Regions from separate parts of the Homo sapiens genome. Here all the other regions are linked to region 1. The links are contacts of gene promoters, found by promoter capture Hi-C in blood cells and fetal thymus (Javierre and others, 2016). All regions are on one chromosome and are shown on one strand. The core of a region is centred on a gene start or on the middle of the fragment in contact, and the rest is flanking DNA. Distances in the headings are between cores, read along the strand shown. Region 1 holds the start of KRT85 (keratin 85). Region 2 has its middle 19 kb from the start of KRT18. Region 3 holds the start of KRT18 (keratin 18). Region 4 has its middle 20 kb from the start of KRT8. Region 5 has its middle 3.5 kb from the start of KRT8. Region 6 has its middle 6.9 kb from the start of MIR9898.

The links. Contacts are between HindIII fragments. The CHiCAGO score rates a contact against its expected background, and 5 or more counts as called.
Region 2: a contact is called between a fragment that was not itself captured here and the fragment with the promoter of KRT85 in region 1, in 7 of 17 cell types (M1 macrophages, M0 macrophages, M2 macrophages and 4 more). The highest score is 14.1, in M1 macrophages.
Region 3: the fragment with the promoter of KRT18 here is called in contact with the fragment with the promoter of KRT85 in region 1 in 6 of 17 cell types (M0 macrophages, M2 macrophages, M1 macrophages and 3 more); the score reaches 13.6 in M0 macrophages.
Region 4: a fragment that was not itself captured here is called in contact with the fragment with the promoter of KRT85 in region 1 in 2 of 17 cell types (M1 macrophages and erythroblasts); the score reaches 5.2 in M1 macrophages.
Region 5: a contact is called between a fragment that was not itself captured here and the fragment with the promoter of KRT85 in region 1, in 1 of 17 cell types (M0 macrophages). The highest score is 8.4, in M0 macrophages.
Region 6: a fragment that was not itself captured here is called in contact with the fragment with the promoter of KRT85 in region 1 in 13 of 17 cell types (M1 macrophages, M2 macrophages, M0 macrophages and 10 more); the score reaches 18.2 in M1 macrophages.

What each region holds. Positions count from the first base shown.
Region 1 is chr12:52,365,112-52,369,693 of GRCh38, reverse strand. KRT85 (keratin 85) reads left to right here and starts at 2,213. Exons shown (of 9, transcript NM_002283.4): 1 at 2,213-2,708; 2 at 4,524-4,582. The coding sequence starts at 2,289. The HindIII fragment of the contact is 4,446 bases long and covers 1-4,210 here.
Region 2 is chr12:52,966,193-52,970,774 of GRCh38, reverse strand. No RefSeq gene overlaps it. Among named protein-coding and RNA genes, the nearest start is that of KRT18, 19 kb to the right of the region's middle. The HindIII fragment of the contact is 7,174 bases long and covers 1-4,582 here.
Region 3 is chr12:52,946,414-52,950,995 of GRCh38, reverse strand. It overlaps KRT18 (keratin 18), which reads right to left and starts at 1,878. Exons shown (of 7, transcript NM_000224.3): 1 at 1,406-1,878; 2 at 586-668; 3 at 90-246. The coding sequence starts at 1,822. It also overlaps a transcript of KRT8 not described here. RefSeq lists silencers at 835-849, 953-971, 1,195-1,218, 1,880-1,929, 1,970-2,049 and 3 more, enhancers at 1,006-1,105, 707-1,361, 273-1,472, 1,296-1,889, 1,890-2,483 and 1 more, promoters at 1,849-1,910, 2,120-2,202, 2,280-2,290, 2,211-2,290 and a cis regulatory region at 2,120-2,202. The HindIII fragment of the contact is 10,122 bases long and covers 1-4,416 here.
Region 4 is chr12:52,922,803-52,927,384 of GRCh38, reverse strand. It overlaps a transcript of KRT8 not described here. Among named protein-coding and RNA genes, the nearest start is that of KRT8, 20 kb to the right of the region's middle. The HindIII fragment of the contact is 7,195 bases long and covers 1-4,582 here.
Region 5 is chr12:52,906,275-52,910,856 of GRCh38, reverse strand. It overlaps a transcript of KRT8 not described here. Among named protein-coding and RNA genes, the nearest start is that of KRT8, 3.5 kb to the right of the region's middle. The HindIII fragment of the contact is 1,829 bases long and covers 1,762-3,590 here.
Region 6 is chr12:52,889,825-52,894,406 of GRCh38, reverse strand. No RefSeq gene overlaps it. Among named protein-coding and RNA genes, the nearest start is that of MIR9898, 6.9 kb to the left of the region's middle. RefSeq lists a silencer at 217-395. The HindIII fragment of the contact is 2,470 bases long and covers 1,409-3,878 here.

The DNA of each region.
Region 1 (4,582 bases), core at 964-3,463:
AAACAGGAGCCTCCCTCCAGGACAAAACCTCCTGCCCCCAAGAAGGAAGAGAAATGTCTCTGGTCCCATCATCTTTAAGAACCTGGAGGAGGGCAGAGGCTTACGGGAGTTGTGGAGAGAGGCAGGTGTTTCTGGGCTTTCAGTCCCCTCTACCTGCCACGTTCGGACCCCACCCTTCTCCAGGAATCCCTCTTGGCCCATACCACACCAGCTCCAGGTCTACATGGCAGTCAGTCAGTGAACTCACTGTCCAAACATCCCTGTATCCCAGCAATAGGCCCCACACTGAGCTCCCCCATACAGCCTCCTCTCTCTGTCCCCAGACTCCACCCAAAATTGCTATACAAGTGAAATCAGACTAAAAAAAAAAACATTAAAAGCAGTCTTGAAAGGGTGAAGGAGTCATAAATGTGCAGAGGAGGTGAAGGCTGTGGCAGGGCAAGGAACAGCCCTTTCTGCTGGGTGAGGCAGGTGGGAATGTTTCTCGTGGAAAGCAACAGTCCCTTTCCTTTACACAGAGCTTTCCCTCACATATCATCCTCTTCACCCTCCCAACAGCCCGGGAAGGTAAGGATGAATCCACATTACAGTTAAGGAAACAGAGGCTCAGAGAGTTTAAGAACTTCCTCCAAAACCATACAGCTAGGAAGGATCCAAACTGGCCCTTGAACCAGGTCTTCCAGCTTTGATTCCATTGCCCGGGTTGCCAAACGCAGTTGCTTTTCCATGGATGATTATGATCTGCATATGTTCTAGGGTCAGCTGGTGAGACCACCTGCTCTTCCCCCACCAGCTGCCAAGGTCTCTCTACCCTGCCCTGAAGAACAATGTGGAATGTGGAGGTGAGGTGGGAATCGATCAGCCTGATCCTGGGTGAAGGTCCTGGGTGAGGTCAGCTGGCTGTGGAGATTAGAGCAGATGCAGGACAGAGTACAGGGCATTTCGTGAAGGACTTATGAGAACAGCAGCATGATGGCAGTGTTTGGTTATGGAAGGCTTCCTGGAGGAGGAGTCACCCTCTGAGGAAGCTCATCGGCTCTTCTTCCTTAAGTTCCTAACACTTGGGTGTCTGGCTAACCTTCCTGGGGGCAGACCCACATCCCCAAGGTTTGTACTCCATAAACATTAAAAGAATAGCACTTGTTATCCTAATAAGTGTCCCAAGGACACACAGGGAAGCAGAAACTAGAAGGATGGGGCTCCCAGAACCCCCAGGAGCCAGAAGTCATAGCCACCTTAGACAAGAATAAACCACTATCCCACTTCCAGCTTTGTGCAATGCAGTCTCTAAACACTCCTCTAGGGATGACAATTCAAGGGCTGGCCAACAGAAGGAATACCTCTTGTAGCTGGTGGTCTGGGAAGGGAGACTCACATGACCTGTTTCTTCTTAAAGAGCAAAGCAAAGGTGCCCACAGCAAATTTATAGCCCCCAGGTTATCCCAAGGTTGAGTTCTCCAATCCTTTTGACCGAATGGAAGAAAGTGGCTAGAGGGAGTCTCCCCATAATCCGCAAGTAGCCATTATTGTGGCCACTGAGAGTTCTGTGGTTTGCACTTTTGCTGGGTGAGAAGTGAAAGCTCTGGACCAGCGCCTTCTGGGCTGGAATCCAGAAGGTTCCAAGAGATCATCTGCCCCAGCCTTTTATCCTGGCACGGGCATGGTCAAAATGACCGCTCTGGTCCTGAACCACCTTCCAAGCAATGCTGCCTAGATGGGGTGGGATTCGCCTGACCTATTGGCCCCTGAAATGCAATGATTTACTTGAGAATGTGTCCTCTGTGGAACCAGATAGATGAATGCAATGATCCCCCAAGTCTCACCTAACCCAGGACCCTCCAACCTCTCCCTTGAGACAATGGCTCCTGCCTGTATCCCAAACCCAGCCACCCCCAGGCTGTTGTGGAGTTCAAATCCGTCTCCAAGTGTGGGTTGAGGCCATCTCACAGAAAGACTGTGAGAAAATTAATTACTTAATGTATGTAAACGAGCTTTGAAGATGAAAAGTTCAAATGCAGTCTCCTTAATAACATCTTCAAGACTTCAGGGAGCCCCAGAGTCGCTGCTGAGCTCACCTTTAAGATGAGTCCGTGGGGAGTTGCTGGCAAACTCCCCAAGCCCATAAACAACATAAAATGGCTTTCCACTCCTTTTATGCAGCCAACCCCAGCTCTCCCCACCAATAAAAGGACCAGGGAGGATCAGAGAGAGCAGAAGGATCCTGAGCCTCGCACTCTGCCGCCCGCACCACCTTCCGCTGCCTCTCAGACTCTGCTCAGCCTCACACGATGTCGTGCCGCTCCTACAGGATCAGCTCAGGATGCGGGGTCACCAGGAACTTCAGCTCCTGCTCAGCTGTGGCCCCCAAAACTGGCAACCGCTGCTGCATCAGCGCCGCCCCCTACCGAGGGGTGTCCTGCTACCGAGGGCTGACGGGCTTCGGCAGCCGCAGCCTCTGCAACCTGGGCTCCTGCGGGCCCCGGATAGCTGTAGGTGGCTTCCGAGCCGGCTCCTGCGGACGCAGCTTCGGCTACCGCTCCGGGGGCGTGTGCGGACCCAGCCCCCCATGCATCACTACCGTGTCGGTCAACGAGAGCCTCCTCACGCCCCTCAACCTGGAGATCGACCCCAACGCACAGTGCGTGAAGCAGGAGGAGAAGGAGCAGATCAAGTCCCTCAACAGCAGGTTCGCGGCCTTCATCGACAAGGTGGGTGAGGCCTGAGACGGCCCAGAGAAGCCTCCAGCCCTGTCCTCCCTTGGGGAGGTCCCAGTCTGCTGAGGAGACAGGATGGCTGCCGGTTTGAGGCAGCAGAGGGAATGACGTGCAGACCCATACAGGTGGAAGGGTCAGTTTCCATCACTTAACTCCCGCAGCATTTAACGAGGTCCAGGTGTGGTCTAGAAATTGAGCCTGTGATCCAAAGTGTGTGCATGTGTGTGTGTGTACATGTGTGTGTGTGTAGCGGTGTGTGCGCCTGTACGTATGTTAGTGTGTGGTGTGTATATGTGTGTGTGTACATGTGTGTGAGCATATGTGTGTGTATGCATGTGAGTGTGTACATGTGTGTGAGCGTGTGTGTGTTTCTTGAGCCAAGACGACATAGGACTATCAGAACTGTGTCTGAAAAACCAGACTGGGCAGCAGGTGCTGGAAGAGTGGGAGATAACGGGGAGACCAAAAGACCTTGTGGCTCCTAGCCAGGCAGCCCGTGAAGGGGCTGGGGTAATGCCCACAGCCATGCTGCCTCTCCCAAGTCCTTGCTGCATCACTCAGCAGTGTGAGACCCCAGGCAGGTTACTCTGCTGAATAACAGGACTGCCTCATCCACCTGTGAGGAATTAATGAGTCCATGCATGAAACATGATGGCAAATAGTCAGCACTCAATACATGTTAGCTGCTACTATCATTATTTTCCAAGGACAGTGGTAGGTGAGGAGGTGTGACAGCCAACCCAGGCCTGGCAGCCCCTTCATGAGAGAGGGCTGAAATGCAGACAGGGAGGTGGCCAGGCTGGTAGGAGGAGGCCCCCTAATGCAGCCAGAGTGTGGAGAACGCTGCATAGCTGTGAGGCTGCCTCCCAAGAAAGTTTTGTCGGGGGAGGCTGGGAGCCTCCTTCACAGGCTCCTCCTGTGTCCACAGGCCTCTAGCAGAGCAGAAGGAGCAGCTTTGGGGGCCTAGGATCAGGGTTTGGGGGCAGAGGCAGTCACCTTCACGTTTTCACTCTTTCTTTAGTGATCTGAGTCCATCCTCACAGTGACGGGTTGGAGTGGGTATCAGCGTCTCCACTTATCAGACAGCAACTTGGAGCTAAGGGGGTGTATACGAGCATCTCAGACATGCTGTAGGGGGAGGCAGAGCATGCCTATCTCAAGACTATCGCTTACCATGAGCTGGGCATTTCACACCTTGGGGGTCTCAATTTCCCCATGTGCAACATGGGGTAAGTAATATCTACATCCCACAGGGCTGTGATAATTGAATGGAATGCATAGTTAGATGATATAGACATAGACACAGACATTAGACATGGATGTGTATATCTTACCACAGGCCTTGGCACTAAGTAGTAAATATTTAATAAGTGTTTGTTGCATAAATGAGCAAGTGAAGGGCAACTGGTAATTATAATAATAGTTAAATAGACTGAGCATTTACTACGTGTCAGGGACTGTTCTAAGCACTTGATATGCATTAACTTGTTCAAGCTTCACAACAGTGCTAAGACAGACACTATTCGCTCCATTTTGGAAAGGAGAAAACTGAGCCCCAGGAGGTTAAACAACTTGCTCTCTAAAGTATCAAAACTGGGGCTCGAAACAGACCTTTGGCTTTGAGTCAGACTGCTTTCCCTCACACCCACAACTGCCTCCCTGGGGGCCTGGGAATGGGCCCCTTGAGCCGCAGACACTCAGCTTTATGGCTCAGCCCATTCAGCCAGCACCCGAGGGCAGAGAGACTGTGGGGGACCAGGTGCCTCCCCCCAGGCTCCCTCTGACTTCTTCTTTCCACCTGAATGGCAGGTGCGCTTCCTGGAGCAGCAGAACAAGCTGCTGGAGACCAAGTGGCAGTTCTACCAGAA
Region 2 (4,582 bases), core at 964-3,463, 600 kb before region 1:
TTGATTTGACCACGGCTGTGACCATCCGGTCAACAGAAGTATGCCATAGTCCTGAGGTGCTCCTTGTGGCTGGGTCTGGTGCTAGACAGGGCTAAAGGCAGCACCAAAGTGGGCAGTAGGCCTTTGAGACCCCGACTGGACAGAGCCACACTCTTCAGGCAGGATGCTGTCTCCTTATCTAGGCTTGGGGTCTTGGGGCAGCCGGAGGGTTGGCATCCTTGATTATAGCCACAGGGATGAGACCTTTTTGTTTTGTGCTTTGGCTCAGCTCAGCCCCACTGCATGCCTGGCTGCTCCCACCAGCTCAAGATTATCTCTCTGGTGACGTGCTGCCTGGGGCTTGGCATGTACCCACCCCTGCGATCTTGCCCCTGCTGCAGCCAAGAGCAAAGTTTCAGTCTCTGGGACCCCAGCCAGACAACTCAAGGAGAGCCAATGAACTTGTATTTATGCAGTACCTACTAGCTGCCAGGCATGCAGCCAAGCCTTGGGGACTTTGTTCTCATTATTTTCTCACCTTTCCCACTGCACAAGTCTTAGCATCTCTCAGGTTTCACTTCTGCCACAAATCATGGCCATCATCCTCCCCGTGAACACCTGCAGCATTTACTGCCATGACATTCCTTGGCTTTGAATTAACCTCGTGACCTTTCTTGTATCTTTATGTTCTTAGGGCCGAACCTGAGGGTGGGGACCTGGGTCTAAGCTGTCCCACTGGTGGGCACCTTCCCTTCCTTTCCTGAACATTTTTGGAATGTAGGAGTGACCCCAGAGGAGGATTACAAAGCCCTTCTTCAAAGGAGAGGTTGAAAGTGGTGCCCGGGTTCTATAAACATTTGCACTGAGCATTCCTAAATGACAGGGAGATTTATAGTTTGAGTGCCTTCCCATTACGAAGACTGTTTAAGTGACTTGGGAAAGTTTCTTTAAAAAGAAAAAAAAATGGAGCAGATTAAGATGAGATTTTATTTTTCTTTTTTTCCTTAAAAAGAAAAAAAGGCTAGGCGAGGTGGCTCATGTCTGTAATCCAAAGGCTAGGTGAGGTGGCTCATGTCTGTAATCCCAGAACTTTGGGAGGCCGAGGTAGGTGGATCATTTGAGGTCAGGCGTTTGAGACCAGCTTGGCCAACGTGGTGAAATCCTTGTCTCTACTAAAAATACGAAAATTAGCTGGGCGTGGTGGTGCACACCTGTAATCCCAGCTACTGGAGAGGCTGAGGCGGGAGAATCGCTTGAATCTGGGAGGTGGAGGTTGCAGTGAGCTGAGAAGCCGAGACCACGCCACTACACTCCAGCCTGGGTGACAGAGTAAGACTCCGTCTCAAAAAAAAAAAAAAAAACAAATTCTTCCTGGGCTTTCTTAAAGCTGGGGTGTGTGTGAAGCGAAGCTGAGGAAGTTCAATTGTTCTCCCACTAAGTTCTCTTTCCTGGAACAAAGAGGACCTGCAAAGAGAGTGAGAGGACTGCTGGCATCTTGAAATATTCTTCTACTCTCCTTTGTCCTCTTTTCCTTGGGTGAGGCATGCAGAGACTCCTCTTGGTTTGTTATTTGCTCATTTATTTGTTCATTCATTTGCTTATTCATTCAAAAGCTAGTAAGAGAAGATTGTTAAATTTGAAAATTTTGCTTCCCAGAATTAAACCATTTTAAATCAACCATGACAGCAGTATTTATACCTTGGATATTGGCAAATGCTATAGGTTATTAAATAAAATAAAATAACATTTTATTTACAATTTAATAAAAATTACAATTTCAAATTTTTGTCTTTAAAAAAGAAAATAACAACCTGCTGTTTATGTGTTGGAATTGTGTTATGTATCAGGGCATAAGAGTGAACAAGATAGTCCAGTCTCTGCTCAAAGGGAGCTTACAGTCTGGTGCTGCACTGTCCTGTCCAATCTGGTAGCCATTAGCTACTAGCTACTGCTGTGGTTATTAATTTATTTTTTAAAGTTTTTAATTTTGGCTGAGTCTGGTGGCTCATGCCTGTAATCCCAGCGCTTTGGGAGGCCGAGGCAGGTGGATCACCTGAGGTTAGGAGTTCGAGACCAGTCTGGCCAACATGGCGAAACCCCGTCTCTACTCCAAATCCAAAAAAAAAAAAAAAAAAAAAAAATTAGCCAGGTGTGGTGGTGGGCGCCTGTAATCCCAACTACTCGGAAGACTGAGGCAGGAGAATCACTTGAACCTGGGAGGCGGAGGTTGCAGTGAGCCGAGATTGAGCCAGTGCACTCCAGCCTGGGCAACAAGAGTGAAACTCTGTCTCAAAAAAAAAAAAGTTTTTAATTTTTGTGGGTACCCAGTATGTGTATCTATTTTAGGGTACACGAGATATTTTGATACAGGCATACAATGCATAATAATCTCATCAGGGCATCCATCACTTCAAGCATTTATCCTTTATGTTACAAACAATCCAATTATACTCTTTTAGTTATTTTTAAATGTACAATAATTTATTTTTTTTGAGACGGAGTCTTGCTCCATTGCCCAGGCTGGAGTGCAATGGCATGATCTTGGCTCACTGCAACCTCTGCCTCTCGGGTTCAAGCAATTCCCCTGCCTCAGCCTCCCGAGTAGCTGGGATTACAGGCATGCACCACCATGCCTGGCTAATTTTTGTATTTTTAGTAGAGACGGGGTTTTACCATGTTGGTCAGGCACGTCTTGAACTCCTGTCCTTGTGATCTGCCCGCCTCAGCCTTCCAAAGTGCTGGGATTACAGGCATGAGCCACTGCACCCAGCCTTAGGCTGGTGCTTTTTAAACTTTTTTTGCTTCTGGGGAGTGGGTGATAGGGAAAGTTCTGCCAGCCTGGGAGGGGCCCACTAGAGCCTGCTGCTCCAGTGTGGATTGTGGGGAGAGGAAAAGGAACTGTGTGCTTTGGGCCCAGATCACTGGAGTGCCCTGAGTCTCTGAGAAGTTTACCCTACATCCCTCCTGTGGCAGCACCATCCACTTCACCAGGATCTGACCAGGGCCTTCAGGGGGACACAGCCTCCCCGGATCTGAGCATCACTATCATTCTAATTCCTTGGGCTGTTTCTGTGTAGATAATTATTTTCCAGCTCATTCAGGCAGGTGAGGTTGAGGCCAGCAGTGCAGCTAAATCCTTACACCGTGACTGGGGCTGCTTTTATACAGGTTAGGGGAAGAATAATCACTTATGGCTGAAATCTAATGGAAGAGGGAGTTCTGTGTAACTCTAGTGGGCAGAGCTGAGTTTAGAAGGTTAGTAGGAGGCAGATTTCAGCCCAGTAGAAGGAACAATAATGTTCCAGTAATTATACAATTATTATCCAACAGGGGCTATACTGTCATAAATTCTTCAAACGGAGGCCAGATGTTAGGAAGGCCACAAAGAGGATTCCTACTGGGAGAGGCCAAACTTGAACCATCTGTTTATTTATTTTATTTTATTTATTTATTTTTTTGAGAATGGAGTTTCACTCTTGTCACCCAGGCTGGAGTGCAATGGCACAAACTTGGCTCACTGCAACCTCCGCCTCCCGGGTTCAGGTGATTCTTTTGCCTCAGCCTCCCAAGTAGCTAGGATTACAGGCATGCACCACCACGCCTGGCTAATTTTGTATTTTTAGTAGAGACGGGGTTTCTCTATGTTGGTCAGGCTGGTCTCGAACTCTTGACCTCAGGTGATCCACCCACCTCGGCCTCCCAAAGTGCTGGGATCAGAGGTGTGAGCCACCACACCGAGCTGGTAAGTATATTTTTATTTTTATTACTATTTTTTTTGAGACAGAGTCTTGCTCTGTTGCCCAAGGCTGGAGTGCAATGGCAAGATTTCAGCTCACTGCAAACTCCGCCTCCCAGGTTCAAGCAATTCTTCTGCCTCAACCTCCCAAGTAGCTGGGAATACAGGCGCATGCCACCACGCCTGGCTATTTTTTTTTTTTTTTTGTATTTTTAGTAGAGACAGGGTTTCACCATATTGGCCAGGCTGGTCTTGAACTCGTGACCTCGTGATCCGCCCGCCTCAGCCTCCCAAAGTGTTGGGATTACAGGCGTGAGCCACCGCGCTGGGAGGTGTATTTTTAAACTTAGAAAAAACGGCCCAACTGTTTTCCAAAGTAGTTGTACACGTTTTGTATTCCCACCAGCAACATATGAGGGTTTCATTGCTCTGCATTCTACTTATTTATTTATTTATCTTTGTGACAAGATCTCACTCTGTCACCCAGGCTGGAGTGCAGTGGTGCAAACATGGGTCACTGCAGCCTCAACCTCTGGGGCTCAGGCAATCCTCCCGTCTGGGCCCCTTGTGTAGCTGGGACCAAAGGCACACGCGACCACGCCAGGTGAATTTTAAAATTTTTTGTAGAGATGGAGTCTTACTTTGTTGCCCAGCCTGTTTTTCAACCCCTGGTCTCAAGCAGTCCTCCTGCCTCAGCCTCCCGAGTTGCTGGGATAACAGGTGCGCACCACCAAGGCAGGCTAATTTTTTTAAATTTTTAAATTTAATTTAATTAATTTGGTTATTTATTTTGAGACGGAATCTCGCTCTGTCGCCCAGGCTGGAGTGCAGTGGCGAGATCTCGGCTCACTGCAAGCTCCGCCTCCC
Region 3 (4,582 bases), core at 629-3,128, 580 kb before region 1:
CTACTTGCAGTTGGTTTGTCTTGTCTATTCTCCGACCCAGACTTCTCTTGGCCCCTCAATCCCTGGCCTGGCCAGTGGCCCCTGCTTGCCTCTTCGTGGTTCTTCTTCATGAAGAGCAGCTCCTCCTTGAGAGCCTCGATCTCTGTCTCCAGCTGCAGTCGTGTGATATTGGTGTCATCAATGACCTTGCGGAGCCCATGGATGTCGTTCTCCACAGACTGGCGCATGGCCAGCTCTGTCTCATACCTATAGGAGTGGAGGTGATCAGAGGGGCCCCTATCTCTGATCCAGAACCTTCTCAACTCATGCCACCTACTAAGAGAAGTTCTGTGCCCATTGCAAACCAGCAACTTGAGTCAGCAATTAGGTGGTAATCCCCTGAGCACCATTCTTGGCACTTGGAGGACAGTATTCTTAAACGGGGTTATACAAATGAACAGTTAAATGAATACACTGATGGACCCTGACTCTCATCCACCCACACCTAACAGGATCCCACTGTGAGCCCCTAACTGACCCAGCCTGGGGAGCAGATCCTTCTTAGCTCCACCCCTGGACCCCCAGCTCTCTAGCCCCCAAACTTACTTGACTCTAAAGTCATCAGCAGCAAGACGGGCATTGTCAATCTGCAGAACGATGCGGGCATTGTCCACAGTATTTGCGAAGATCTGGAGGGATTGTAGAGAGAGGTTGTTCCATGAATAGAAAGCCAGGGATGGGTGGGGTGAGTGTGTAAAAAGTGTTATGTATCCTAGTGAAAACTTCCTGGTCCCAGGAATAGCCAGAGGCTCTCCCTGGACACCTATCCCTTTTCATCTAGCCCCACCCCATTCCCTCCTTTCCTGGATTCCCAGATCCCAGCACTCTGCCCCTCTTGGGAAGCCTCAGCAGGCTGGCTAGCTGGCTGGCCTGCCTGCCCAGAAGTGAGTCGCTACTAACAAGTCCTCTTCCTGGCCCTCTCCTGGCATTTTTTCCCTAGTGCACCTGGTCACTCTGGGCCCCCTACACCCTGGATTGGCTCCTCCCAAAGGAAGGCCTCTTGTTTACTCCTAGATGACTCAGCCTTAGCCACATCCGCTTAACCCTCCAATAGTCCCCATTCCGCCAGAGCCAGTGTCTCCTCCTCTTTACAGGCCTTTCCTTACCTCCCTCCATGCTGTCCACTTCCTCTGTAAAGCTCTCAACCCTGTCCCCTTCCCCCTCTCTCCTGGGAAAGAGCCCTCCCATGCCTAGCTGCTGCTCTTAGGGACCCTGTGGCTAGGTGCGCGGATGGAAATCCAGGTATGCCCAACCCCCTCCCGGTGGAGTAGGGGTTGGGTGGTTATGGAATGACGGAAAGAGGCAAAGGAGTGTATAATTGGAGGGTCAGACAAGGCTGGGAGTTGAGGTCCCTCCTACCCCTTACCTGAGCCCTCAGGTCCTCGATGATCTTGAAGTAATGGCTCCAGTCTCTGACCTGGGGTCCCTTCTTCTCCAAGTGCTCCCGGATTTTGCTCTCCAGCCTCCGGTTCTCGGTCTCCAGGCTCCTCACTCTGTCCAGGTAAGAGGCCAGGCGGTCGTTCAGGCTTTGCATGGTCTCCTTCTCGTTCTGGATGCCTCCCATTCCTGCCAGACCCCCGGCTATCCCGGTGGCCAGGCCCCCGGACCCCATGCCGCCCCTGAAGCTGGTGGAGCGGGACACGGAGATCCGGGAACCAGAGCCCCCAGCGCCTGCATAGACGCTGGCCGCGCTGCTGACCGGCCGGGCGCCGTAGCTGGGCGCCTGGACAGAGCCCAGGGACCGGTAGTTGGTGGAGAAGGTGGAGCGAGTGGTGAAGCTCATGCTGTCCGGGGAGAGAGAAAGGACAGGACTCAGGCTTTGCGGACGACGGTGGCGGCCTGCGCGAGCCGCGCGACCCGAGTTATATCGCAGAGTGAGGCCCCGCCCCCGCCCCGGAGCCGCTTCGGAAGCCGGAGCCACAGGTGGACGGCTCGGAGCCCGCGCCCTCCGCCCCGGGCCGCTCCGCCCCGGGCCCCACCCCCGCGCCCTCCGCGCAGCCCTGCCAAGCCCCGCTCACCCCCCAGAAACGGGGTGGCCAACCGGGCATGGACACGGACAGCAGGTGTTGTTGGCCCTCGAGGCTGCTTTCAGGGCAGGAAATGACGTTATTATGCTCTTCTCCCCCAGGTGGAGGAGGTGCTGGCGAGTTTGAAATTTGGGAGTCTTGACCGGGCGCAGTGGCTCACGCCTGTAATCTCAGCACTTTGGGAGGCCTAGGTGGGCGGATCACGAGGTCAGGAGATCGAGACCATCCTAGCCAACATGGTGAAACCCCCTCTCTACTAAAATACAAAAAATTAGCCGGACGTGATGGTGCACGCCTGTAGTCTCAGCTACTTGGGAGGCTGAGGAAGGGGAATCGCTTGAACCTGGGAGGCGGAGGTTGCAGTGAGCCGAGATCGCGCCACTGCAGCCTGGCGACAGAGTGAGACTCTGTCTCAAAAAAAAAAAAAAAAAAAAAGAAAAAAGAAATTTGGGGGTCTGGTGGTGTGCGGGTGGAATGGCCTGTGAGTCCCTCTAGCTGTCCTTAACCTGCAGCCCAAATTATCCACTTGTGGAGGGGATCTTGGGGGCATCCTGGAGCCCCAGGAGTCCCGGGGAAGAAAGGCTGGGAGCTGGAGAAGAGGAGGAGAAGCAATGCCCAGCCTCATAGCTGCTTGCTTACACACTCACACCCCAGCTGCACCTGGCTCCCAAACACTCCTCGCCTGCCCACGTTTCCTCACACACACTCACACCCGAATCATACAGAGGTGTGCTCTCAAATGCACACACACATACATTCACTCAGCAAATAGGTGCAGACTCCCCAAAACAAACCCAGTCTCTGAGCCCCCTCCACCACCCTCCCCTCTCCCGACCTCACTCCCAAGGGCCTTGCCTCAGTGGAACACTGTGATTTGGACAGGGAATGCATCCTGACTTCTGCACACCGGTATATCACCTTTCCTGCATCCTTAATTAAACAAATCCTGAGCATTTACAATTCAACCAGTATGCATTCAGCACCTACTGTGAGCCAGGCCCAGTTCTAGGAGCTGGGAGAGAAGGGCGGTGACAAAAGAGACCAAAAATCTCTCACAGAGATGATAATGTGTCCCACATCGCCGGGCACAGTGGCTCATGCCTGTAATCCAAGCACTTTGGGAGGCCGAGGCGGGTGGATCACTTGAGGTCAAGAGTTCGATGCCACTGCACTCCAGCCTAGACAACAGAGCAAGACTCTGTCTCAAAAAAAAAAAAAAAAAAAAAAAATTTGAGACCAGCCTGACCAACATGGTGACACCCCTTCTCTACTAAAAATACAAAAATTAACCAGGCACAGTGTGTGCCTGTAATCCCAGCTACTCAGGAGGCTGAGGCAGGAGAATCGCTTGAACCCAGGAGGCAGAGGTTGCAGTGAGCCAAGATCGTGCCGTCGCGCTCCAGCCTGGGCAACCAGAGCGAAACTCTGACTCAAAATAAATAAATAAATAAATAAATAAAAGTAATGTGTCCTACATCGCATGGGGCCTGAGAGGACAGGCAGGCACTCCTAGGACCATCATAGCAGCGACCCAGCCCTGGTGGCCAGTGCCCCTCCCCTCTTTTCTAGGACTTTTCTCCAAGCCAGTCCTTCCCCTGTCCCCCCTTGTAAGGGCTGTCTGGATTAGAAGCCTGGCCCCAGGGGACTGCATCCTCCAAGATGCTCTCCCCAGCCTCTGTGTGAGAAGGATGGAGGTAGGGAGGCTTTCATGCTGCCTGCCCCCTGAAGCTGAATGACCATCCCTGCTGAATGAAGTGTTGGGGGGAACCCTTAGGTGTTTGGCCTTCAAGTTTGTCAGCTCCAGCAGCTCGTTTTTCTGGCAGGGCCTGGTATGACACATTTGGCTGTGTTCTTTGCTCTGGAGTGGACCTATTGATTCTTATCGAGCTACCAGCTGAGGGGGAAGGGGAGGACAAATAGTAGGGCAGACCTGGGAGAGAAGGGACCCTGGAAAAGCCTGGCCAGTGGACCTGCCAGGTGGGAGGCAGAGCACAGATAAAGAGCCTGAGCCTGGATTGTTCCTGATCTGTCACCTAATGGTGGGGAGAGCCCCACAGTGCTCAATGGGAGCCAGCCAGGGGGCAGTCAGGGTGGAAGCTGGCCAGGGGAGGGTCGGGGCCTGCTGAAGGCTGGGAGGCAAACGGGATGCAAAATAACATACAAATGAATGCCCACTGGTTTTGCATACAAGGCTTCTGGGAGGTAAGAGGTTCCAGTCAGAGGGGTCTCTCCTGCTTTCACCTTTATATTCCCCCACTGGATTCCAGAACTGTCAAGTTGGGCAGTATTTTATAATAAAGTATGTGGAGTCAACAAGCTACGTACTGCCTTTTACTGTTATTGCTAAGCTTTAAGTCAGCCAGCCTGGATACTTTGCTAGCTGTGTAACCTTGGGGAAGTCACCTAACTCTGAACTTCAATTTCTTCACTTGTACAGGGAAAACAGTAAGACCTGTCCAGTCTATTTCCTCAGGTGGCAGTGAATGTGAGTGTAAATTGTCACTCACTCATTCATC
Region 4 (4,582 bases), core at 746-3,245, 560 kb before region 1:
TCCCCAGGGGAGGCCCAAGGGTGGTGAGTCACTGAATCTGGGCCCCTCTTCACCCTCTCACTGTTCTCTGGCTTGTCCTGCTGCTCCCTTGGGCCCACCTATTTCCTGCTGGAGTTGGGGAGGGGTGGAGAGAAGGACTGGAACTCTCCTGGGTCTATCAAACTGAGTGGTGGTGAAGGTGAAGGGGTCTTCCTGTCCTGAATCTCCTCCCTGGGGTGTGTCCAGGCTGTGGACACCCTTCTGAGGCTTAGCTCCCATCTCTGGTATCCATGAAACAATCACAGCTTCTTTCCTCCCTTGGGGGGAATCCTTGGGGTCCAGGGTAAGGGACAGAAGATAGGAAAAAAGCAATGTGGGAGAGAGGAGATAGGGTCAGAGTAGAGAAGAGGACTCATGGGATAGAATTGAATCATTCATTCATTCATTCATTCATTCATTCATTCATTCAGTGAATCAAACAAGTTCCTGTGCTGGGTGTGGAGGGAAGCAGAAACATGTATAAGACACGCCCCTACTTTTGAGGAAGATGCCTTGGCGCTGATGTGCGGGCCCTGGACTTAGGGTACAGGACTCCGGTTTGAGCTCTGACTACTACTTGCTGGGCACATTACTTCTTAGAGCCTTGGATTCCTCATCTGTAAATAAGGATAAGAAGACTGAACTCCCAAGGTCCTTGTGAGGGTCAAATGAGACAAATATGGAAAATGCCTCATTAATAGTGGATGTTCAGTGCATGCTAAATGACTGTGGATCAGGTTTACAATCAGGGAGGGGAGCTCAGACATGCCCACAGCAAGTGTAACCCAGCCCAGGGGTGTAACAAAGCCCTATTCTTGGGGTCTCTATAGGAGTGGCCACTTCCGGCAGAGGTGACTGGGGCAGGCTTTGTGGGGAGGTGCCTGATGCATGATTTTCATTCAGCAAATGTTTGCGGAATGAATGGGGTGAGCTGGAGCCAGGACCTGCAGGAAGGGTAAGGTTTCAACAGGTGCAGGTGACAAGGAGGTGCTTCAGGAGAGGAGGGCACAGTCCTGGGGGTGGGGTGGGGAGGGCAGCTAGTGCCAGGTGGGGAAGGCTAAGCCTCAGCCACCAGATGAGGAATTTGACCTTTATTCTGAAGGCAACGGGAAGCTCTGGGCTAGGGAGTGACAGGATCAAAGCAGTGTTTGTAGAAGATCAGTCTGGCTGGGCACTGGAGAGGATACCTGAGCGAGCAGGAGAGGTGGTGGGGGGCGGGGGGCAGGGACACACCAGGCAGAGGGACAGTGTGTACATGTCTAGAAGTCTCAGGACAGGCAATTATGTCACCCCCTTCCACTCTGCAGAGGGGGCCTCTCGCACCAGCCTGTCTCCAGGGCAGGTCTCACCAGCCTGCTAGGAGGGAGCTTGAAAGGGAGGTGGGGAATTTCTCAGGGACACAGAGAACATGAGAACACTGCCTCCTTTCTCCTCCTTCCTCCCCTACCTGGGGCCCAGCTCAGAGTAATGGGCCCTGAGGGGGAGAGAAACGCAGCCCTGGAACTGGAACCTGGGTCCCTTTGTTGGTAGGCTCCACCTCCTGTCCTCTAAGATAGAGGGCTGGAAGAGACAAAGAAACTATTAGGCCCCATTAAGAACTGTGCATAAACCCTAGAACTCAGGAACAGAGGGATAATTGAGGTGATAGTATTGCCCAGCCCTGGAGCCCAACTTTCCTTGAAGGGGAAATTTCTGGCCTGGGGCTGGCTGGTAGGAATCTAAAGCCTTAGCCTTTGTGGAGATGAATCATCCTAATCTATCTCTTTGACCCCACCTCCGCCAAAGAGATCCCTTTTGCTCCAATCTCATTCCTGAATGTGCCACACTTCAGGTATCAATGGGGCAAGGCCAGGATGACGGAGGGGGATACCTGCAGGGGAAGAGGTGTTGAGCAGGTTTCTGAAAATGGTGACCATTTCAGACCCTAAATGGCGCCATTCATACCTAAGTGCTGAGTGGTCTCACAGTTTTAGGTATGCTTCGGGGCCCACAGTCTCTCCCAGCCTCCAGCCCTGACTCAGCCTGAGCCCCTGGGAGCCAGAGATAGCTATCCCAGCTATTCAGAGGAAGGAGATAAGGTTTATGGCTCTGGACAGGCTCACCCTGGGGAGACTGTGCATACACACCTCCTCCAGCTGCATTCCTCCCGGTCCTGACCTTGTCTTACTCAGTCTTTTCCTGGAATTACTACAGGAAATAGTGAGCTGTCTGAACGCACCATTTTCAGAAAACTGCCTAGCACCTCCTCCCCTGAAGGTATCCCCTCAATCATCCCGGCCTTGCCCCATTGAGGTCTATACAACATCTTTTTCTTGGCTTCTGGGCAGGCCTGATCCCATCTAGGACCAGTGAGAAGGGGGCCCAGCCCTGTTCCTTTTCCACAGACGCATCCTCCCCATTCCTGGTCACTCATTTCTGCTCCAATGACTCCTTGAATTAGTAAGTCCTTCCTTCAGTCTACCCTTTCACTCCCTTTCGGTGCTTAGTTAAGGAGAGGATGCTCCTCTGTGCGTTGGCTGTTGCCGCAGACCACAGAGTACAGCTGAGGGTCCACTTCACTCCAGGAGCCCTTTAGCTGAGGGGAGGAAGGCAAAAGACAGAAGGAACGGTGAATTCTTAGAGAAGAGTGCATGGTCTTTTCCCATCACAGTAGTGTCCTATACAGTAGTGTCCTATACAAGCAATTATCTTTACAAATTACAATTATCTTTACAATTATCTTTACAAACATTATCATCATATAATTTATTTTATTTTTAAATTTTTATTTATTTTTTTGAGACAGGGTCTGGCTCTGTCGCCCAAGCTGGAATGCAGTGGCCTGTCATAGTTCACTGCAGCCTCAATCTAATTTATTTTACATATGAGAGAACAAAAGCTGAGAGCCCAAATCAAGTATGATTTTTTTTTTTTTTTTTGAGACGGAGTCTCCCTCTGTCGCCCAGGCTGGAGTGCAGTGGCGCAATCTCAGCTCACTGCAAGCTCCGCCTCCCGGGTTCATGCCATTCTCCTGCCTCAGCCTCCCTAGTAGCTGGGACTACAGACGCCCGCCACCATGCCCGCCTAATTTTTTTGTATTTTTAGTAGAGACAGGGTTTCACCGTGTTAGCCAGGATGGTCTCGATTTCCTGACCTTGTGATCTGTCTGCCTCAGCCTCCCAAAGTGCCGGGATTACAGGCATGAGCCACTGCGCCTGGCCTAATGTATGATTTTAAGTATAATGCTTTTGGCCGGGTGTGGTGGGTGGCTCACAACTCGGCTCATGCTGAGGCAGGCGGATCACCTGAGGTCAGGAGTTTGAGGCCAGCCTGGCCAACATGGTAAAACCCCGTCTCTACTGAAAAAATACGAAAATTAGCCAGGCGTGGTGGCGGGCGCCTGTAATCCCAGCTACTCGGGAGGCTGAGGCAGGAGAATCGCTTGAACCCGGGAGGCGGAGGTTGCAGCGAGCAGTGATCATGCCACTGCACTCCAGCCTGGGCGAGAGCGAGGCTCCGTCTCGAAAAAAAAAATATATAATGCTTTTCTCACTACACTGCAAGCACTTTAGGCAATTCAAAGCTCTAAAATCCATATTAATTTAAATGTAATAATACAGGTAATTTTAATAATTTCAAAAATTAATAATTAGTAATAAAAATAATTTAGAGCCGGGCGTGGTGGCTCACGCCTGTAATCCCAGTATTTTGGGAGGCCGAGGCGGGCGGATCACGAGGTCAGGAGATTGAGACCATCCTGGCTAACAAGGTGAAATCCCGTCTCTACTAAAAATACAAAAATTAGCCAGGCGTGGTGGCTGGCGCCTGTAGTCCCAGCTACTCGGGAGGCTGAGGCAGGAGAATGGCGTGAACCCAGGAGGCAGAGCTTGCAGTGAGCTGAGATTAAGCCACTGTACTCCAACCTGGGCAACACAGCGAGACTCCATCTCAAAAACAAAACAAAACAAAACAAAACAATTTAGGAATAAATGGTCCTGCCCCTTCATTATATAGATGAGGCAACTGTAGCTCAGAGAGGAGCAGTAACTTGTCCAATGTCACACAGCAATTTAGAGACCGAGTTGAGACTAGAACACAGGCTATTTGATTTCCAAACTTATGTTTTCCTGCTACTGCACATTCTTCTAGGAATAGTCTAAAACAATTCTCAAAACAAAAATTTAACTTAATTTCATTTAATTTTCATCATAAACCTTAGAACGCTTTGATTTTAATCACACATCCTAGAGCACTTTGGAGGTAGTGGTAGGAATTTGCAGAAGTGCAATGATGTGAGGGAGGGTCAGTTCACAGGACGAGTGGGAGGGCAGAGAGCTGGGAGCCTGGCTACGGAACCCTCACTCAGCTGTCCTGGGCTTCCTGAGCTTCCCCAGATCAGCGGGGAAGCTCCTGGAGGTCTTCTGGAAGGCACCTTCCTTTATCAGAGGTGTTGGCCGATCAGTTCAAGCTCTCATGCTGGCTGCAGAATCTGCCTTCCTGCCTCCTGCATCTCCCAGACTGTCTGCCTAGATCCAGGGGACTGGGAAGCTAAACTTTGGGTTTTGGAGCCAGAAGAGCTGGGTGG
Region 5 (4,582 bases), core at 1,427-3,926, 540 kb before region 1:
AGGTTGCCCAGCAGGAAAATCAAAACAGTGGGCCTCTGGATATCAGCTCCAGTGCTAAGCAGCTCAGGCCAGGGGAATCCTCAGGGCTGGGGTGGGGGTGGGCAGGATGCCTATAGCGGAGCCCCAGGTCCTTCCTGTTTGTTCTTTTCCTGCACTCCTGTCCGGTTGCCTGAACACCATGAGGGCTTCCCCTATCGCAATGTCAGCTTCTGAAGTTTCCTTGAAATCCTCTCAATAACTTCCACTTCCTGTCACTCAAGTCCCCAGTACCGCTGTCTTCACTGTCAGGAGTGGGACCCATTTGTGTCTGTCCTCTCGCAGTCTCTGTCTCTGTCTCTGTGGCCCTGGCCAACGGTGGTGGAGTTTCAGGTTCTGGGGACTGAACCACTCTGTTTTCCTTCCTGAGGGACAGAGTATATCACCCTTTCTAAGCAGGAACCTGCAGTGCTGTGGATTTGAGCTCTGGCCTATTTCCTCTGGGAAGAGGAAGAAAGTGTGTTCCTAAAGGTCTTGGTGTTGGGACCAGAGCTAAAGCCTGGTGCCTGACTCTGGCTGTACCGAGGAAGCTTTGAAAATGCAGACGGGGTGCGACCTGAGCACGTATACTGTTATAATCTCCCACGGGCGATCTTGATGTGATGGAGAACCAGAGTTAAGGGGAAGGACTCTGTGGACTGAGCCATAGCTGGGACCTTCCGCCTAGGCTTCATGCTCACCCAGTGGGATGACCTTCTTGGTTTGGCATCAGTGGAGAGGAGGGTGAGAGAATGTTGAAAATGTGAGAAAGGCTGTGTGCAGTGGCTCACGCTGTAACCCTAGTACTTTGGGAGGCTGAGGCAGAAGGATTGCTTGCATCCAGGAGTTCGAGTCAGGCTGGGCAACATAGTGAGATCCTGTCTCTAAAAAAAAGAAAAAAAAGTGTGGGAGACCTCAACATCTTCAGGCTGCTGGGCTTGTGTCTCCTTCCTCCACAACAAGGCTGTGCTGTCCTCCCTCACTCTTGTTCTAATAATTTCTAATCATATCTCTTATCACAAGCAAAATTTCAAACCAGAGAACATTCACAGATTTTCATCTTCAGTGCGTAAAGCTCTATGGTGGTGGATGTGGATCAAAAGCTTTCAGAGTTGGCGGGACTTGGACATTCTAATTCAAACCCTAGCAGATGTGAGAACCCCCTCCCACTGAGCCAGTGGACAGCTGGTGAGCAAGGTCCCTCTCCATGTCTCCAGGTACAGGAGGTTGCTCCCTCTCTAGGCAGTCCATTTCCATCCTGGCTGGCTTTAATCATCAGATCCATCACTGATCAAGAGCAAAAAAGTCAGCATTTGCTAAGCTTTGACAATGAAAAATTTTAGCCTTGAGGCACATAACACAAAATTAGCAATCGAATTGACTCTATTATTCATGATGCTGCTTCCTGAGGGGTGTACCCACCACCTGTGGCTTCCTATTTAAACAAATTGTTCTGCTGTCTCTATGCTAAATGCAGCTATTTCTATACCAATAATAACATTTCAAAATGCTCCATCATTTAAAGGGATTTCGGGTGCTTTTCGGGCATTGCCTTAACCCAGAGGCAGGAAGCCTCTTTACCTGGGGCATCTAAACAAACTCTTTGCTTCTTTCCCCTGACCCCTTATGCTGGGCACAAAGCCCCTGCTTTTTATATGTAGCTCATTTATGCTTTTGTGGTTATCTTTTTGTTACAACTTTGTTGAGCTGTAATTCACATACAATATAATTCAACAATCTGAAGCTTGCAGTTCAGTGATTTTTAGTATGTTCACAGACTTGTGCAGCTTCACCATCATCAAATTTGTTTATTTATTTATTTATTTTTGAGACAGAGTTTCACTCTGTCTCCCACGCAGGCTAGAGTGCAGTGGCACAGTCTTGGCTCAATGCATGCGGCCTCAACTTTCGGGGCTCAGGTGATCCTCACAACTCAGCCTCCAGGGCAGCTGGGACTACAGGCGTGTGCCGCCATACCTGGCTAATTTTTGTATTTTTTGTAGAGACGGGGGTCTCATTATGTTGCTCAGCTGGTCTCAAACTCCTGGGCTAAAGTAATCCTCCTGCCTCGACCTCCCAAAGTGCTGGGATTATAGGTAGAGCCATTGTGCCTGCCCACCACCATCAAATTTAGAACATTCTCATCACCCCAGAAAGAAACCCTGTGCTCTTTAGCATTCATCTCCATTCCTCCCCTCCCTAGGCAACCACTAATCTACTTCCTGTCTCTATGCTTTGCCTGTTGTGCACATGTCATATAAATGGAATCATAGGGTACCTGATCTTCTATGACTGTCTCCTTTCACTGAGCATACGGGTTTCAAGGCTCATCTGCATCCAACATGCATCAGTAGTTCATTCCTTTTAATTGTAACATTAGATCGTATGGATATGCCACATTAAAGAAATCCATTCGTCATTTGGTGGACATTTGTTTTGTTCCCACTCTTTGGCTATTATGAACAAGGTTGCAGCGAATGAGATCATCAGTCCTGATCTCTAAGCAAAACTTGTTCAGATCCCGGGAGGCGGAGCTTGCAGTGAGCCGAGATTGCGCCACTGCACTCCAGTCTGGGTGACAGAGCGAGACTCCGTCTCAAAAAAGAAAAAAAAAAACTTGTTCAGACCATCTCTTCCCATGATCATGAGTGATGATAACAGCTACCTCCCCACCCCACTGGCCCCAAGACTTAATGCCACTGCTCAGGGTCTCAGGGCCTTCTCTGAATTATCCTGCACCATCAGAAGTAGGGGGCCTGGCCCTCACTCTTGGCCCACAGGGAGTGAGTGTCTCCTCCTTCCCTGGTTCACTCTCCAGGAAAGGCGGTTTGAGGCAGAGTTGTCTGGGTAGGGCAGGCACCGCAAACACGTTGTTCCCTTTTGTCCGGCAGGCAGCTGTGTGTAGACCACAATGCCTTACAAGGAGTTGTACCTGTGGGCCTGCTCCAGTCTGGTTCTCTCTTCCCTCACCACTTGGCCCTAGTCCCAGGGGCCTTCTCCTTCTGCCTTTAACCCTGAAGTCCCAGGCAGGGGCCATCAGAGAGGCCAACTCTGGCCTCTTCTCCTGCACCGAGGCTGTGCTTGGGGCATCTGGGGGAAGGTTTGGCTGGGGTCTCTGGGCAATAGAGAGATGACAAATGAGACACAAACACTTCTGGCCCTAGACGGTTCTGGGCTGCCCCAGAAAAAAAGGGCTTCCCCTGGCTGGGTAAGGTCTGGGTCAGCCCTCCAGCCTGCATACTGCAGGGTCCCTGGCAACCCCCTCTGTCCTCACCTTAAACAAGGGACACTCCTAGAACCAGGGAACCAGAAAGGTGGGGTGGAGGGGACTGGAATTTCAGGAAAGGCTTTGGGGTGCTGTTTTTTTGCTCCTTGTGCTGCCTAGATCAGGACCTGAGTGCCCCCTGCTCCCTCTAACAGCAGCGTGGGGGAGGGAAGATAGGGAGAGCGCCTGTCCTCCCTTTCCAGGGCTGCCATACCCGTCTGACCAGCCCCTCCCTCCCTCCTTCCGCCTTCCCTGTCCCAGGTTTGGCACTGGGCCCAGTCCTTCTCCCTTTGGTCTTCTGTTAAAAGCTTCTCAGCCCTGGTGGGTGCGGGTGTTTGTTGGGGAGGGGGTAGCATGCCTTCCAATCACTCTTGGGAAAATTAGGCATTGTTTAAAGGAGCTGGGAGAAGGCCTGGTGTAAATAGGTGCTAACTGAATTTCCCTTGCTCCATTCAGCATAGCAGGAGGCAGGGCCTGGGGAGGGGAGGGGAGGTGAAGGAGCCACTCACTGTGCCCGCTCTTGGGATCTATGCATTTTTCTGGAAGGGACTTCAATGTGTGGGGTGTGTGTGTGTGTGTGTGTGTATGCACGCGTGCATTGTGAAGAGAGCTTGTCTGTGTGTCTGTCTTTTTAAGTTTGTCTGTCCTCCAAGGAGGGGGCTTCTGGGTCTCTCTGTCCTTCTGGGTAGGGGTCCTATGTGCCTGTCTTTCTGTGAGCCTGGGTGTCTCTCCTAGAGAAGGATGGGGAAGAAACTGTACATCTGTCCTCCCAGTAGGTGGTCACCCCCTTCCCTGGGTCAGGGCTATGTCACCTGTCCCTCTCCTCAAGGGGATCTGGCTGTCATCTGTTGGTCCTCTGAGTTCAGTTTCATCCAGTCCCCACATCACACCCTGCAGTATCTTCCAGAGAACCCAGCCCCAGCCATCAGGTAATTGCAGGTGGAATCTCTGCCTTGGGGACCTAAACCTCCTGCCTTCCACCCACAGCATGCCCTGCCTGGCCCCACCCAGGCCTGGGGTGCCTTGCTCAGCTCCCCAATCTCCAACCTCCCACAGGTGCGTGCTACGTCCCAACCTGCCCTCCTGACTCACTTTGATAATGGGAGACAGGTGCAGGGACTCTTCCTCTATTTCCTCTGGCCCGTTGGGAGCCTGGGTAAAGCAGGAGGGTCCAGGTAGCACCACGAGTGCCACACCACTCCACTGTACCCCCTGCCGTCCTGTCTCACTTCCCATGATTCACTCACTGGGAGCAATGGGAGTGACTCCCGCAAAGAGCAAGAACTATGAAGTCCCTGACAT
Region 6 (4,582 bases), core at 1,394-3,893, 520 kb before region 1:
ATTACAGGCGTGAACCACTGTGCCCAGCCTTTTTTTAGAGACAGAGTCTCATTCTGTCACCCAGGATGGAGTGCAGTGACACAATCTCGGCTCACTACAACTTTTGCCTCTTGGGTTCAAATGATTCTCCTGCCTCAGCCTCCCAAGTAGCTGGGATTACAGGTGCCCACCACCACGCCCAGCTAATTTTTGTATTTTTAGTAGGGACGAGTTTTCACCATGTTGGCCAGGCTGGTCTTGAACTCCTGGCCTCAAGGAATCCGCCCATGTCGACCTCCCAAAGTGCTGGGATTACAGGCATGAGCCACTGTGCCTGGCCAGTAATACTAGATTTTTAACGCATATAAATGAAAACATTTTTTTTTTTTTGAGACAGAGTTTTGCTCTGTCATTCAGGTTGGAGTGCAATGGCTTGATCTCAGCTCACTGCAACCTCCACCTCCCGGGTTCAAGAGATTCTCCTGCCTCAGCCTTCCAAGTAGCTGGGATTACAGGCGTGCACCCCCATACCTGGCTAATTTTTGTATTTTTAGTAGAGACAGGGTTTTGCCATGTTGGCCAGGCTGGTCTTGAACTCCCGACCTCAAGTGATCCATCTGCCTCAGCCTCTCAAAGTGCTGGGATTACAGGTGTGAGCCACTGCACCCAGCCAACAATTTTTTTTGAATAGGTAACAAATACATTTTATATATAATTCTTTTTTTTTTTTTTTTTTGAGACGGAGTCTTCGCTCTGTCACCCAGGCTGGAGTGCAGTGACATGATCTCGGCTCACTGCCAGCTCCAGCTCCACCTCCTGGGTTCACGCCATTCTCCTGCCTCAGCCTCCCGAGTAGCTGGGACTACAGGCATCTGCCACCACACTTGGCTAATTTTTTTTATTTTTTAGTAGAGACGGGGTTTCACCATGTTAGCCAGGAGGCCTCGGCCTCCCAAAGTGCTGGGATTACAGGTGTGAGCCACCACATCCGGCCTTTATACATAATTCAAAAGTACAAGAGGACCCTTCCCCAGTCAGCCAGTTTCTGTTCCAGAGGGCAATTAATGCTACCAGTTTCCTGTGATTCATTCCAAGTAGAAGTTATTATATATAGTTACATAGGGACATACATGCATACATTTCTATCTATCCTTCATGAAGGGTATTGTACTATATGTGTTGTCACATGCCTTGCTTTAACATTCACCCAATACCTGTTCCTTCCATATCAGTATACAAGTTGCTTCTCCACTCTTTTTCACAGCTGCATAATATTCCACTTTGGGATGTGCCACAATTTACTTAACCAGTCCTCTATTGGTATTTGCTATGACAATGGTGAGGATATCTTAATAATTCCTACAAGTGGAATTGCTGAAGCAAAATGTGTGCACATTTAAATTTTAGTAGACTTTTTGTTTTTAAAGCTTGATTTCCTATGGGACTGAATTTTAGTTTTTTAGAAAATTTACATGTGTAGAAGAAGGTTCCTGTTTGACTATTCCAGATGAGCCAGCCATTATCCCCCACTTCCCTCCACCCTGCCTTTCCCGACCCAACCACCCAGGATTAAAATGATGAGTCTTCCAAGCATTTGTGGACTCTTCTGAAGATATTTTAATTCCAAGGTTTTGCTCTGCCTGCCCGCTGATCTGGGCTAAGGTGGTCTAGGAGCTCCCCTGTAGTAGGGGGATCTGAAGGTGGGCTAAGGACCGAGGGCCAGGCTGACTGGAGTGTAAGGTGGTGGGAATGGAGGAGTGAATGTTAAAGCAAGGCATGTGACAATGCGGACAGTACATACCCTTCATGAAGGATAGATAGAAATGTGTGCATGCATGTCCCTACGTAATTATATATCATAGATTCTACCTGTTGGGAAAGGAAGAGGAAGCACCACTGCAAGGAAAGGAAGGCAGGGAAGGATACCAGCATGGTGGGTGGCCCCCTAGTTCACTCTCCGCGCTGCCCTTTTACACATTGTGGTGGGCATAGTTGCTTTGTCTAGCCAGGACCCCTTCCCCCTTCTTCTAGTAATGCAAAGCTCCCCCACCTCCACTCCTGCCACGCCCCACTTCTTTTCAGGAACTGTTCCTCCTAAGATCACAGGACCTCTGTCCAGGCACACAGGGTTCACAATGGGCCAGCCTTGGCCAATCACAAGTCCCTTTGTTTCCTCCTTGCTGAGGCATATTGTACATACAATAAAATGCAAAATGTGCTTTAATGGGGAATGTACAACCTGATGAGTTTTTTTATTTTTATTTTTATTTATTTTTTTTGAGATGGAGTTTCACTCTTGTTGCCCAGGCTGAAGTGCAATGGCACGATCTCGGCTCACTGCAACCTCCGCTGCCCAGGTTCAAGCGATTCTCCCGCCTCAGCCTCCTGAGTAGCTGGGACTACAGGCATGCGCCACCACGCCGGGCTAATTTTGTATTTTTAGTAGAGACGGGGTTTCTCCGTGTTGGTCAGGCAACTCCCGACCTCAGGTGATCCACCCGCCTCAGCCTCCCAAAGTGCTGGGATTACAGGCGTGAGCCACCGTGCCCGGCGCCTGATGAGTTTTAACTTATGTTCACACCTGTAATGTAGAACATTTCCTATATCACAGAAGGTTCACTTGGGCCCCTTGCCAGAGTGCACTTTTTTTTAGTAGACTTATTTTTTAAGAACAGTTTTAGCTAGGCGCTGTGGCTCATGCCTGTAATCCCAGCACTTTGGGAGGCTGAGGCGGGTGGATCACGAGGTCAGGAGATCGAGACCATCCTGGCTAACATGGTGAAACCCCGTCTCTACTAAAAAATACAAAAAAATTATCTGGGTGTGGTGGCAGGCGCCTGTAGTCCCAGCTACTCGAGAGGCTGAGGCAGGAGAATGGTGTGAACCCAGGAGGCAGAGCTTGCAGTGAACTGAGATCATGCCACTGCACTCCAGCCTGGGCGACAGAGAAAGACTCCGTCTCAAAAAAAAAAAAAAAAAAAAAAAAGAAAAAAAGAGCAATTTTAGGTTCATAGCAAAATCGAGCAGGAGGTAGAGGGTTCTCATACACATTCTGCCCCTACACCTGCATCCCACACCAGAGGGCTACATTTGTTACAACATCATCAACATCCCACCTCAGAGGGATACATTTGTTACGATTGATGAACCTACATTGACACATCATTATTACCCACAGTCCATAGTTCACATTAGAGTTAACTCTTAGTGTGGACATTCTGTGGGGGCCATGTAGCCACCATTACAGTACCATACAGAATAGTTCACTGCCCCCAAAATCAGAGTGCATTCTCAAAAATATGAATCAGATTCAGTTACTTCCTTATATGGAAAACCCTTTATTTTTATTTTATTTTTTTCTTTTCTTTCTTTATTTTTTATTATACTTTAAGTTCTAGGGTACATGTGCACAACATGCAGGTTTGTTACATATGTATACATGTGCCATGTTGGTGTGCTGCACCCGTTAACTCGTTAACTCTTCATTTACATTAGGTATATCTCCTAATGCTATCCCTCCCCTCTACCCCCACCCCACGACAGGCCCTGGTGTGTGATGTTCCCCACCCTGTGTCTAAGTGTTCTCATTGTTCAATTCCCACCTATGAGTGAGAACATGCGGTGTTTGGTTTTCTGCCCTTGCAATAGTTTGCTCAGAATGATGGGAAAACCCTTTACTTTTGACACCCAGAATAAAGCCCTAAATCTTGACTTGGCCCACAGGCTGTGCCTACTCTTCCTCCTCTGAGGCCTCATCCTGGCCACTCTGTCCCTTGCTCTCTGATGCAGTGGTGCAGGCTTTTCAGGGCATAGCCTACATGGAATTTGCTTCTGCTCAGGGCATTGCATGGCTGGCCCCCTGCTTGGAACACCCTGCCTTTCCTAGTCACTCCCAAGCTTTCCGCTCAAACGCAGCTTCCCCAAGAAAGTCTTCTGACACCACAAGACAAGACAAAAAGTTTTATGACACCACAAGACAAGAAAGTCTTCTAGACACCACAAACTGAGTGGCGTGTTTCTATGATAAGTTCCCAAGGCACCCTGTATTTTCTCCTTGTAAATTACAGTCACTCATTCATCTGCAGAGGTATTTTATTAATATCAGCCTTTCCCCATACACTGTAAGCTCCATGAGGGCAGGGACACACCATATCTGCTTGGTTCTCCACTGATTCTTCAGTGTTTAGCAGAGTGCCAGGCACATAGTAGGTGGTCAATAAAAATTATCAAATAAAAAGGAATGAACCATTTCCATATTGATAGCCATCTTTTTTATTTTTTTGAGACAAAGTCTCTCTCTGTCGCCCAAGCTGGAGTGCAATGGCATGATCTCGGCTCACTGCAACCTTCACCTCCTGGGTTCAAGCGATTCTCCTGCCTCAGCCTCCTGAGCAGCTGGGGCTACAGGCACATGCCACCATGCCTGGCTAAGTTTTGTATTTTTAGTAGAGACGGGGTTTCATTATTTTGGCCAGGCTGGTCTTGAACTCCTGACCTCATGATCAACTCACCTTGGCCTCCCAAAGTGTTGAGAGTACAGGAGTGAGCTACCGAGCCTGGCCCAAACAATTTGGGAGTTTGATAAGTTTTTTTTTTTTTTTTT